Regions from separate parts of the Homo sapiens genome. Here all the other regions are linked to region 3. The links are contacts of gene promoters, found by promoter capture Hi-C in human tissues and cell types (Jung and others, 2019). All regions are on one chromosome and are shown on one strand. Each heading gives the region's core, a stretch centred on a gene start or on the middle of the fragment in contact. The rest is flanking DNA. Distances are from core to core; before and after follow the strand shown. Region 1 overlaps TNRC6B (trinucleotide repeat containing adaptor 6B). Region 2 overlaps TNRC6B (trinucleotide repeat containing adaptor 6B). Region 3 holds the start of ENTHD1 (ENTH domain containing 1).

Evidence for each region. Contacts are between HindIII fragments. The study calls those that stand out against the background at their distance.
Region 1: a fragment that was not itself captured here is called in contact with the fragment with the promoter of ENTHD1 in region 3 in 1 of the 25 tissues and cell types used here (stomach).
Region 2: a contact is called between a fragment that was not itself captured here and the fragment with the promoter of ENTHD1 in region 3, in 2 of the 25 tissues and cell types used here (mesenchymal stem cells and mesendoderm cells).

The regions. Positions count from the first base shown.
Region 1 is chr22:40,309,299-40,312,463 of GRCh38, forward strand. TNRC6B (trinucleotide repeat containing adaptor 6B) reads left to right here. Exons shown (of 23, transcript NM_001162501.2): 17 at 1,519-1,695. Among named protein-coding and RNA genes, the nearest start is that of ADSL, 36 kb to the right of the region's middle. The HindIII fragment of the contact is 7,129 bases long and covers 1-3,165 here.
Region 2 is chr22:40,259,412-40,262,573 of GRCh38, forward strand. It overlaps TNRC6B (trinucleotide repeat containing adaptor 6B), which reads left to right. Exons shown (of 23, transcript NM_001162501.2): 4 at 2,421-2,762. LOC124905121 (a long non-coding RNA gene) reads right to left here. Exons shown (of 2, transcript XR_007068107.1): 2 at 1-957. Among named protein-coding and RNA genes, the nearest start is that of TNRC6B, 83 kb to the left of the region's middle. The HindIII fragment of the contact is 8,779 bases long and covers 1-3,162 here.
Region 3 is chr22:39,891,853-39,895,138 of GRCh38, forward strand. ENTHD1 (ENTH domain containing 1) reads right to left here and starts at 1,908. Exons shown (of 7, transcript NM_152512.4): 1 at 1,843-1,908. It also overlaps a transcript of GRAP2 not described here. The HindIII fragment of the contact is 22,421 bases long and covers 1-3,286 here.

The DNA of each region.
Region 1 (3,165 bases), core at 511-3,010, 420 kb after region 3:
ACTTGGACTTAACTGTATCCATGAGAACCAAGTATAAATAGGTGTCCGGCTGTTCCTGCTGCAGCGCCCTGGCAGGCCCCAGCCCCAGCCAGGTCATTCAGTCTGAAGCCTTTCAGGTTTCCTTTATAAACCACTCTTTAATAAGCCCATCCAGGAGGCTGGTGAAATGCCCACGTGGAGCTCTCTGCCTGCCATCCCTAAGCATTATCATTTGGTTTCATGGCATGAAGTCAAAAATGATTTATTGAAATTGTAAAATCTGTTTGTGGACTGAATAATCTAAGCCCACTGATATCTACAGCTTTGGGCACTTTCAATGCTTCCTTAGGCTGATGATTCACCAGGTCCCCTTGTCCCCAAAGACATGATAGGTGCATGATAATAAATCTGAAATGGCATGTGAGAGGATATCTCAAAGGCAAAATCTCTACTTGCCTTTTTAGAGCTTATAGATCATGTTTTCCCATTTCCTTAGCAATCCCCAAAGTAATTGAGCTTGTCATTTTCCACTGCTTCACCATAATGTGCCTCTGAGCCAGATTTGTCAGTGGCTCCAGAAAAGTAAATGCCCTCTTAGCCTGAGTATGGAGGTAGTTTTGATAATATTCCCATTAGGCTGCATCACCCTGGAAATAATTTTATCCCTTCACAAGCAGCATCCTAAGAATAGATCAAGTGACCCAATATAGTATGTAAAATTCATTTGAGAAATAAGTAGACTGGTATCTCACTGATACCTAAAATTTTATTCAAAGTGCATGTTCTGTTAGTTCAAGGTAATTTTAAGCTTTTAATTATTTTCCTGCCCCATAGCATATAAAATGCATGATGGGGGCAGCGACAAAACCACTGAAGTGCTCTCAGGAAACCAGTTACAAAGGATTTGCTGTTCTTCATGTGTGAGGCCACGGATCCCAGAGCTGCAGAGTTCATTGCTGGTCTTGTGCTGGCAAAGACCCTAGGCGGGAATTCCATCTCATTGCGTTGGAATTTAAAGCAATTGCAGATGCTTTTCCCTCCAATGGACTCTCTGTTTACACTGCTGCTTCCAGCTAATCTAAGCCTGATCAGCCAGCCCTTAAGAACCTGGGTGGATAGCATCAGTAGAAATTTAGTTAAAACCTTCTTATGTGCTACAAATGGTTAGAATTTTCCCCATTTCTCACTCTTGAGTCGTTAGCATAGAAACTAGGGATAATGGTCAGATTCCTAGTATGTGAACGTTTCATTAATTTCATAAGACCATGGAATTTTAAAACTGAAAGGAACATTCAAGCATGAGAACAATCCTGTGTGCCTAAGTGAGGAACTGAGAGGCTCAGAGAGGCGAAATGACTTGTTGTTGGTCATGCTGCTTAGTAATTCTGTGCTGAGTCTCGAATGCAACCTCTTATTCCAGTGCTGTTTGTATATACTCCATCAGCTTCAGAAGACTGTTTGCATTCCAGCGAATAAAAAATAGACAAGTTCTATTCATAGGAGTTATTCTGGATGATTTAATTTCCTCTCTTTTCTCAGGCGCTATAGTGGCCCCTGGTAAAACCCGGGGAGGGTCACCGTACAACCAGTTTGATATCATCCCTGGTGACACACTGGGTGGCCATACGGGTCCTGCTGGTGATAGCTGGTTACCTGCCAAATCTCCACCAACAAATAAAATCGGAAGTAAATCCAGCAATGCCAGTTGGCCTCCAGGTATTGTCTAGGAAATGCTTTTCCCAGGATAGCATTTGTTTTGTAATTGTCAGTTTCAGGTTCAGAATACATTGCTTTTGTGATTCATGTTACTAAGGTACTTGCTTTTATTTTTTTCATTCAATAATTGTCTGTTAGAAGCAAGGCATGTGCTGTGGGAAGATAGAAAATTTTCATTAGATGGGGAATCTGGGGATAAGTGACATTGTAGGTGGGACTTTGCATTCGTCCCATGCATAGGATGCCTTGTAACATGGGTTCTTTTGAAGTGTCTGTTGAATTGATTTGTTAGTTCTTAGGCAAGTGTGTATTACCAGTTAGCTTCTAGGTATGCAGTAGCGATTGCAATGAGATTATTTGTTAATTCTTTTCTTTCTGTCCCTCCCTTTTGTTGGATATAGTAATCTATTCTCATGATAGAAAAATGAGAACATTTAATAAAGCAAAAATTAAAATCAGTAATTCCATAAATATATATCCTCCTAGACCTCTTTCTGTGCATGCGTATTTGTGACATGAATATGTATAGTTTCGTTTTATTAAGGTAGAATTTTTTTTTTTTTTTGAAAGGGAGTTTTGCTCTTATTACCCAGGCTGGAGTGCAGTGGTGCGATCTTGGTTCACTGCAAGCTCTGCCTCCCAGGTTCAAGCGATTCTCCTGCCTCAGCCTCCCAAGTACCTGGGATTACAGGCGCCTGCTACCACGCCTGGCTAATTTTTTGTATGTTTAGTAGAGACAGGGTTTCGCCATGTTGGACAGGCTGTTCTCAAACTCCTGACCTCAGGTGATCTGCCCGCCTCGGCCTCCCAAAGTGCCGGGATTACAGGCGTGAGCCACCACGCCCGGCCAAAGTAGAACTGTATAATGCAGATCGTTCATATATAATACACATTGCTCTTTCTCATCACGATTTGGAAAATAAAAGTTTATTGTGTCACATAGCCTTAAAATTTTAAAATGATTTAAATTGACCAATAAAAAAATTCCGAGCCCTTATGTATATTCTAGGCTTTCTTTTGCTAAGCTAAATTATCCCTGCTGGTTATCCCTGGACATTCTGTGTAGCAGTATCATTTGTATTACATTTTTTGCATTTTGGCCAACATCTCGTAAGGAAAATGAGAAAGAGCACTGATCTCTAGCCCATATTTTCACCGGTTCTTGGCCTAGATGCTGGGATGATTCTTGTGAACACCAGAGTCCTTACTCCTGCTTTCCCTGCCTTCAGCCCTGAAGTCTCCTGGGAGCAGGAGGATCAGGTTACTGGGGACAGGCTCTGATGAGCTGTGGCTTCCAGTTGACTGCCACAGACAGTGTGATAAAACAAAGGTGCTGTTGGCAAGAGTATGTTCATGGTGATTTTTTTTTCCTTAATTTTGTGATGAAAATCTAAGAGACAATAAATTCAGTATTTATACTTTTCACAGACCCATTTCTTATGTCAAAAAAAGTACTATATCATTTTTTTT
Region 2 (3,162 bases), core at 581-3,080, 370 kb after region 3:
CTAGGTTTCACAATGTCGGCCAGGATGGTCTCGATCTCCTGACCCTGTGATCTACCCACCTCGGCCTCCCAAAGTGCTGGGATTACAGGCGTGAGCCATCGCGCCTGGCCGACTAATTTTATTTTCTTAAGTCACACATTTATTCTGCTCATCAGATTTTGGATCCTCTGACCTCCACTCCCCCTCCCCTTACTGGGAGGCCTGGTGCTGCCTTGTGATTAGCTGAGGTTAGACATGGGGTTACCTGGAAATTGCTGCAGGCACCTGCTCTTTTCTCCTGTCACCCACAGTATGTTAATGTCCAGTAGTGGCATAGATTGGGCCGCCTGATTTCTGATGATGTATCTCTCTCATAAAGGAGCCAGTTCAGCAAGCAACATGCTGGCCCCGCATCATTTTAGCAGTCAAAGCAGTACTACCCCCAGAGTTGGCCCTGACGTTACCCTGGGAGGCAGGGATTTGGGCCTCAGAATCATCCGAACTGTCAGGCTTGATGATTATTTCTGTACGACTTCCAGCCTCTATTTGCCAGGTAGATTTTTATGGAGAGGGTAGTGATCTTCTGGCAGCATGCAGCGAGGGAGGTACAGATCTAAGAGAGCCTTCTCTGTATGTTCGACGGGAAGAGCCAGAGGGTCCGGCAGAGTGCGGTTTCACGGTTGCCCCGACATTCCCACGCTGTGTGCGGGCCATTTTTAAAATTAAGTTTAAAAAAATCAAATGATTTAAAGTAAACAGAAAAAGTATTTACATTTTGAAATTTCTATTTTAAAGAATTGGGAAGAAACACTTTTTTTTTTTTTTAAAGAAAAGCAAAAAGATTTGTAACATTTCTAGTATTTACACAGAGAGCGGTGCAAGTCTTTGAGTCCAGGTAGCTGTAGAAACCAGAACCAAGCTGAGTTTGTGATTTTCTAGGCCTGGAGTTTCTTGTAAGAGTCCACTCTGTGCCATGCCCTAAGGAAGAAAGAAAAGATGAAAGATGGGTCCTTGCCCTCAGGAAGTCATGGCCTGGTGAGGGAGAAGGACTTGTAAATGGAGAATTTCTGTGATAGAGAGAGATGGGACTTGTAGATGGAGAATTTCGGTGGTAGAGATAGATGGATTTTTGAATGGAGAATTTTCATGGTAGAGAGAGATGGATGATGTGTTCCAGGAGCACTTAGGAAGAATGTTTAGCCCATCTAGGCCAGGGGCTTCAATAAAGTTTACTCAGGGGTAGATCTTTTAAGAATGTGGATGAAGGGAAGGGACCCTTGGACTGAGGCTTGAAACCTTTCCCAAGGACTTTGCCATGGACATTTAACTCTTCTAGGCAGCACTTCAGGGAATTAATTCCACTGTTGATTTAGGGGAGTGAATGTTGATTGCTTCCCTCTCCGCCTTAATTAATGGAATGTATTCCATGACCTTGCTGTGTTTAAATTCTTGTCACTGTCAGCCGCCACCTTCATCCTACCTTCAGCAAACTGGAGAGATTGTGGAGAATTTGGAAAAACTGTTTCCCTTGAGAGTAGAGTAAAAGGAGAAGTTACTTTGTTAGAATTGGTACCATGTAAGCTTTCTTACAAATAATCTTAGCCAGGGTCTGGGTGTGGTGGCTCACACCTGTAATCCCAGCACTTTGGGAGGCCGAGGTGGGTAAATAGCTTGAGTTCAGGAGTTCGAGACCAGTCTAGGTAGGCAACATGGCAAAACCCTGTCTCTAGAGGAGGAAAAAAAAATTAGTTGGGCATAGTGGTGTATGCATTGTAGTCCCAGCTACTCAAGAGGCTGAGGTGGGAGGATCACTTGAGCCCTGGAGGTAGAAGTTGCAGCAAGCCAAGATCACTGCACTCCAGCCCGAGTTATACAGCAAGACCTCATCTCAAAAAAATAAAAAATAGGCTGGGTGCAGTGGCTCATGCCTGTAATCTCAACACTTTGGGAGGCCAAGGCAGGCGGATCATGAGGTCAGGAGTTCAAGACCAGCCTGGTCAACATAGTGAAAACCTGTCTGTACTAAAAATACAAAAAATTAGCTGGTTTTGGTGGTGGGCGCCTGTAATCCGAGCTACTTGGGAGGCTGAGGCAGGAGAATTGCTTGAACCTGGGAGGCGGAGGTTGCAGTGAGCGGAGATTGCACCACTGCACTCCAGCCTGGGCGACACTCACACTGGGTGACAGTGTGAGACTCCGTCTCAAAAATAAATAAATAAATAAATAAATAATAATCTTGGCCAGGCACAGTGGCTCACTCTTGTAATTCTAGCACTTTGGAAAGCCAAGGTGGGAGAGTCCCTTGAGCCCGAGTTCAAGACCAGCATGGGCAACATGGCAAGACCCCATCTCTAAATAAAATAATAAAATTATTTTTAAAATTTTTAGAAAAAATGTATTTGATGTATTTCAAAGACTGTTTCCCAACCCCTCTCTTTTAGTGCCCGAAGTGACGAAACCAAGTTTAAGCCAACCAACGGCCGCCAGCCCAATTGGCAGCTCTCCATCGCCACCAGTCAATGGTGGCAACAATGCCAAAAGGGTGGCAGTGCCGAACGGACAACCGCCAAGCGCCGCCCGCTACATGCCTCGGGAGGTGCCGCCGCGATTCCGTTGCCAGCAGGACCACAAAGTGTTACTAAAACGTGGGCAGCCCCCTCCACCGTCCTGCATGCTCCTTGGGGGTGGGGCAGGGCCTCCTCCCTGCACAGCACCTGGAGCAAACCCAAACAACGCACAAGTGACAGGAGCGCTGCTGCAGAGTGAGAGTGGGACTGCGCCAGGTAAGGCACCCTGTGAATCGAATGCATGGCAGCTTGACAGAGAGAGAGCACTTTGTTTGCATTGCTTGATGTAAAGTCCAGGAAAGCCATTCATTATATAAACCACTGGGATTAGTCAAAAGATGAGAGAGGATCCTAGTATGCGATGTGTATTGGTGATTCTTGGAACTGAGGTTTAGTGTTCCGTAAGTGTGTGCTCTTGGCATAAGGGCTAACTTAACTGCTGTTGCTTATTATTTTGGGGGCCTTTTTTCCTTCTCAGACTAGAGTGTTACAAATTTGAGCCTCCATAGTTCCACCGTCATATGTGTTCAGGGCATAATTGGACATGGGGCTTGTGCGAAGGCGAATCTTTAGATGCCTGTGTTATGTTTCCAGAATGCTAGGAGGATAGAGAAAA
Region 3 (3,286 bases), core at 658-3,157:
CAAGTGATCCGCCTGCCTCGGCCTCCCAGAGTGCTGGGATTACAGGTGTGAGCCACCGTGCTTGGCCTCAAAAAAAATTTTTTTTTTAGACACGAGTTCTTATTGGTTGCCCAGATGGTCACAAACTCCTATAAAGCATGATATTAAAAAAATAAATAAATAAAATCTAGCTCTCATAATTGTCAAGTAAAATTCTATAGTTTTGAGCAAATATTTTCAAATCATCAACAGATATTTCTTGAGTACCTACCATTTGTATAGCTTTGTGGAGAAATATAAAACATGAACCTCACATTAAAACTTACCATTCAGTTAAGGAGCTTTCTCTCCTAAATAATTCCCAGCAAAACAAATGATTACGTAGAAAAGGTCTTTTAGTGTTATTTTTAGATCTGCCCACTTTCACAATGCTGTTTCCTTCCCCCCATTTCATCTGAATTCTAACAGGAAATGATTTATCAGCTGGCATTAAACTATTGGTCCACGATCTTTTATCCCAATCCTTTGAGGCCAGATGATTTGTGGAAATTCTCTTTTGGGTGCGGTGGTAGGGGTGGAATTTTCAAGAGTAGTGCCATGTCTATACCATATATTACATGATACCCACAGTAAGGTGTGGAGCTGCTCTGAACAATTAAACACATTAACATGTCTGCAATAAAAACATGTAAATATTTGGAATAAAGACTACAAATGGCCTCAGGCCAAGTTTTACCACCAAATGAGTTGGAGGAAAAGTTGATTTCCAAAAGTTTTTGGATTTCAGGATTGAGAATAAGGAACAGAGGAGCTGAACTGACTTTATCCAAAGACTTGGGACAATAATGACAATAGCATCTAAGAGGCTGAGTGTCCAGAGCTATCTCTGAAAAGATGCATTTAAGGTGGAACTATGAGAAAAGAACAGCTCTTGTGTTTGTACAGGTTCTGCCTATAGACATGAGTTTGACTCGTAAGGAAATGAGCTCTGGCCAAGAATGCTACGGGAAAATGGTTATAGAGACTACCATGCCATTAGGAGGTGTTACTGTTTTGATGAAAAGAATACTGTCAGAGGCAGAGAATCTAATCTTTTCCAGCCCTAAGTGTGTGTTCATTAATTTATTCAACTAATAATCTTCCAGAGCTTACCATGTGGCAGGCTCCATTCTAGGAAATGGAGAAACAGGTGCACAAGACACAGTCCTCACACCCTGGAGTAAACAGCTACTCTTCATTGAACGCTCACAATGTGCTCACACCTGGGCCTTCACATGCCTCATCTCTCTCCTTTAATTAGGATTCAAAGCCATGATTTGAGGTCCTGCTTTGCCATTTCCTAACTAAGACTTAACAACTTCTCTAAGTCTCAGTTCCCTCATCCGCAACACAAAGAATAATCGCCAGACAGGGCCGTGGGGGAGGAAGAAACGAGATGCTTTGGAAAGAATTTTGAAAATGGCGGGTGGAGGCTGAGCAAGAATCAACTTTCTGTGGGCAGGGCCTTTCCTCGGCATCCTCGTCTTCATTCATACAACCCCCACTTCAGATGACGACTGTGTACCAGATGAGCCAGGTGCTGGGCGTTCGGCCACACAGAGAATCAGACCAGCAATTACCCTAGGAGAACCGGCAGTGGAGGGGAAGGCTGGACCTCAGGAAAGCCTCTAGAAGGAGAGAGGGACGTGATGGCGTCACGTCACGCCACAGGGATTTCACCTCCTGCGGATGGTAATGGCCTCGCCGCCCTCCCGCCCCCACCTGGACTCCGACGGTGCCGGCAAGAAACGGGAGGAGGGAAGGCAACCGATGTTTCCAGACCCGCCTTGAGCCCCACCACCACTCCCAAGCAGAGGCTGTTACCTGAGAGGAAAGTCGGCCGCTGCCCAACGACCAAACTTCCTCTCCCCAGGATATTCCACCTACTCCAGCCAGGCTCAAGGGCCCAGGCCGGTCCCCACTTCCGCTTCCTCACTTTCTGGCCTGGTGCAGTTCCTGTCAGGGCGTCAAGCAAGATGGTTGCAGATACCTGAGCTGGAGGGTACCAAGGGGAATGAAGGTAAGTGTCTTCGTTTCACAGGCTGCCGGGCTGTGACACTGCCCTAATCCTCCTTTCAAAGAATAAATTTTTTTTTTTTTTTGAGATCTGGGAAATAGTTTAATCAGACACTAGCATTTATTCTTAGCTGCTTTCTTAATTAAATAAAAATGAGTATAAATTAATTTACTAAATGTTCACAACGTAAAAACGGACATTAAAAAAAGAAAAAAAATGCCAAGGTAAGCTGATAATGTTTTTAAAAAGTAGACAATAAAATAATGTATGTAACTTAAAATTTGCCATGATAATTTATTCTTAAAATGGAAAATCAGTAAAATACTCAGACTTCTAGCATAATATCTCTTTTTTTTTATTTATTATTATTTAAGTTTTAAGGACATGGATGAAATTGGAAATCATCATTCTCAGTAAACTATCGCAAGAACAAAAAACCAAACACCGCATATTCTCACTCATAGGTGGGAATTGAACAATGAGAACACATGGACACAGGAAGGGGAACATCACACTCTGGGGACTGTTGTGGGGTGGGGGGAGGGGGGAGGGATAGCATTGGGAGATATACCTAATGCTAGATGACGAGTTAGTGGGTGCAGCGCACCAGCATGGCACATGAATACATTTTTAAAAGTGTGTTACTACTGTCATTTCAACTGACTAGAAATACCACCAGCACGTGATTGCCACCTCAAAGGACTGAGAATGTAATAGTAGTCTATGAAGAGCAGTGTGTGTGATGGACAATGATGGGGTAGCTCCAGTGACTGATGGCTTCAGGTGCCACTGACGGGTAATTGTTGATGTATTCAACTGATTTTCCGTGAGCACCCACTTTGTGCCAGACAGTAAGGACTCGGAGATAAAAAGCAGCCCTCTGCTGGATACGTTTACAGGCTAGTGGAGGTGACAGGCACCGTCAGAGAAGATTGTAACAAGATATGTATGGCATAGTAAGAGAGAAGAGATCATCTAATTCTGCCACTGAGTATTTAAGGGCAGGTTTCACAGAAGAGTTTACATCTGAATTGAATCTTAAAGGATGACAGGGAGTTCACTGGATAGACAAAGTAGAGGAGGACGTAAGAGGCAAAGGACACATCATGTGTAAAGGCATGAAAGCTGAGCCAGCCTATTATCTTGGAAAAACTACATGTACTGTAGTTACTACAACTGTCACAAAGGCTATTAGTGGAGCAGCAGAGGAAGGTTAAATAACAGAGGGAAGTTGGATCATGAAGAACCTTA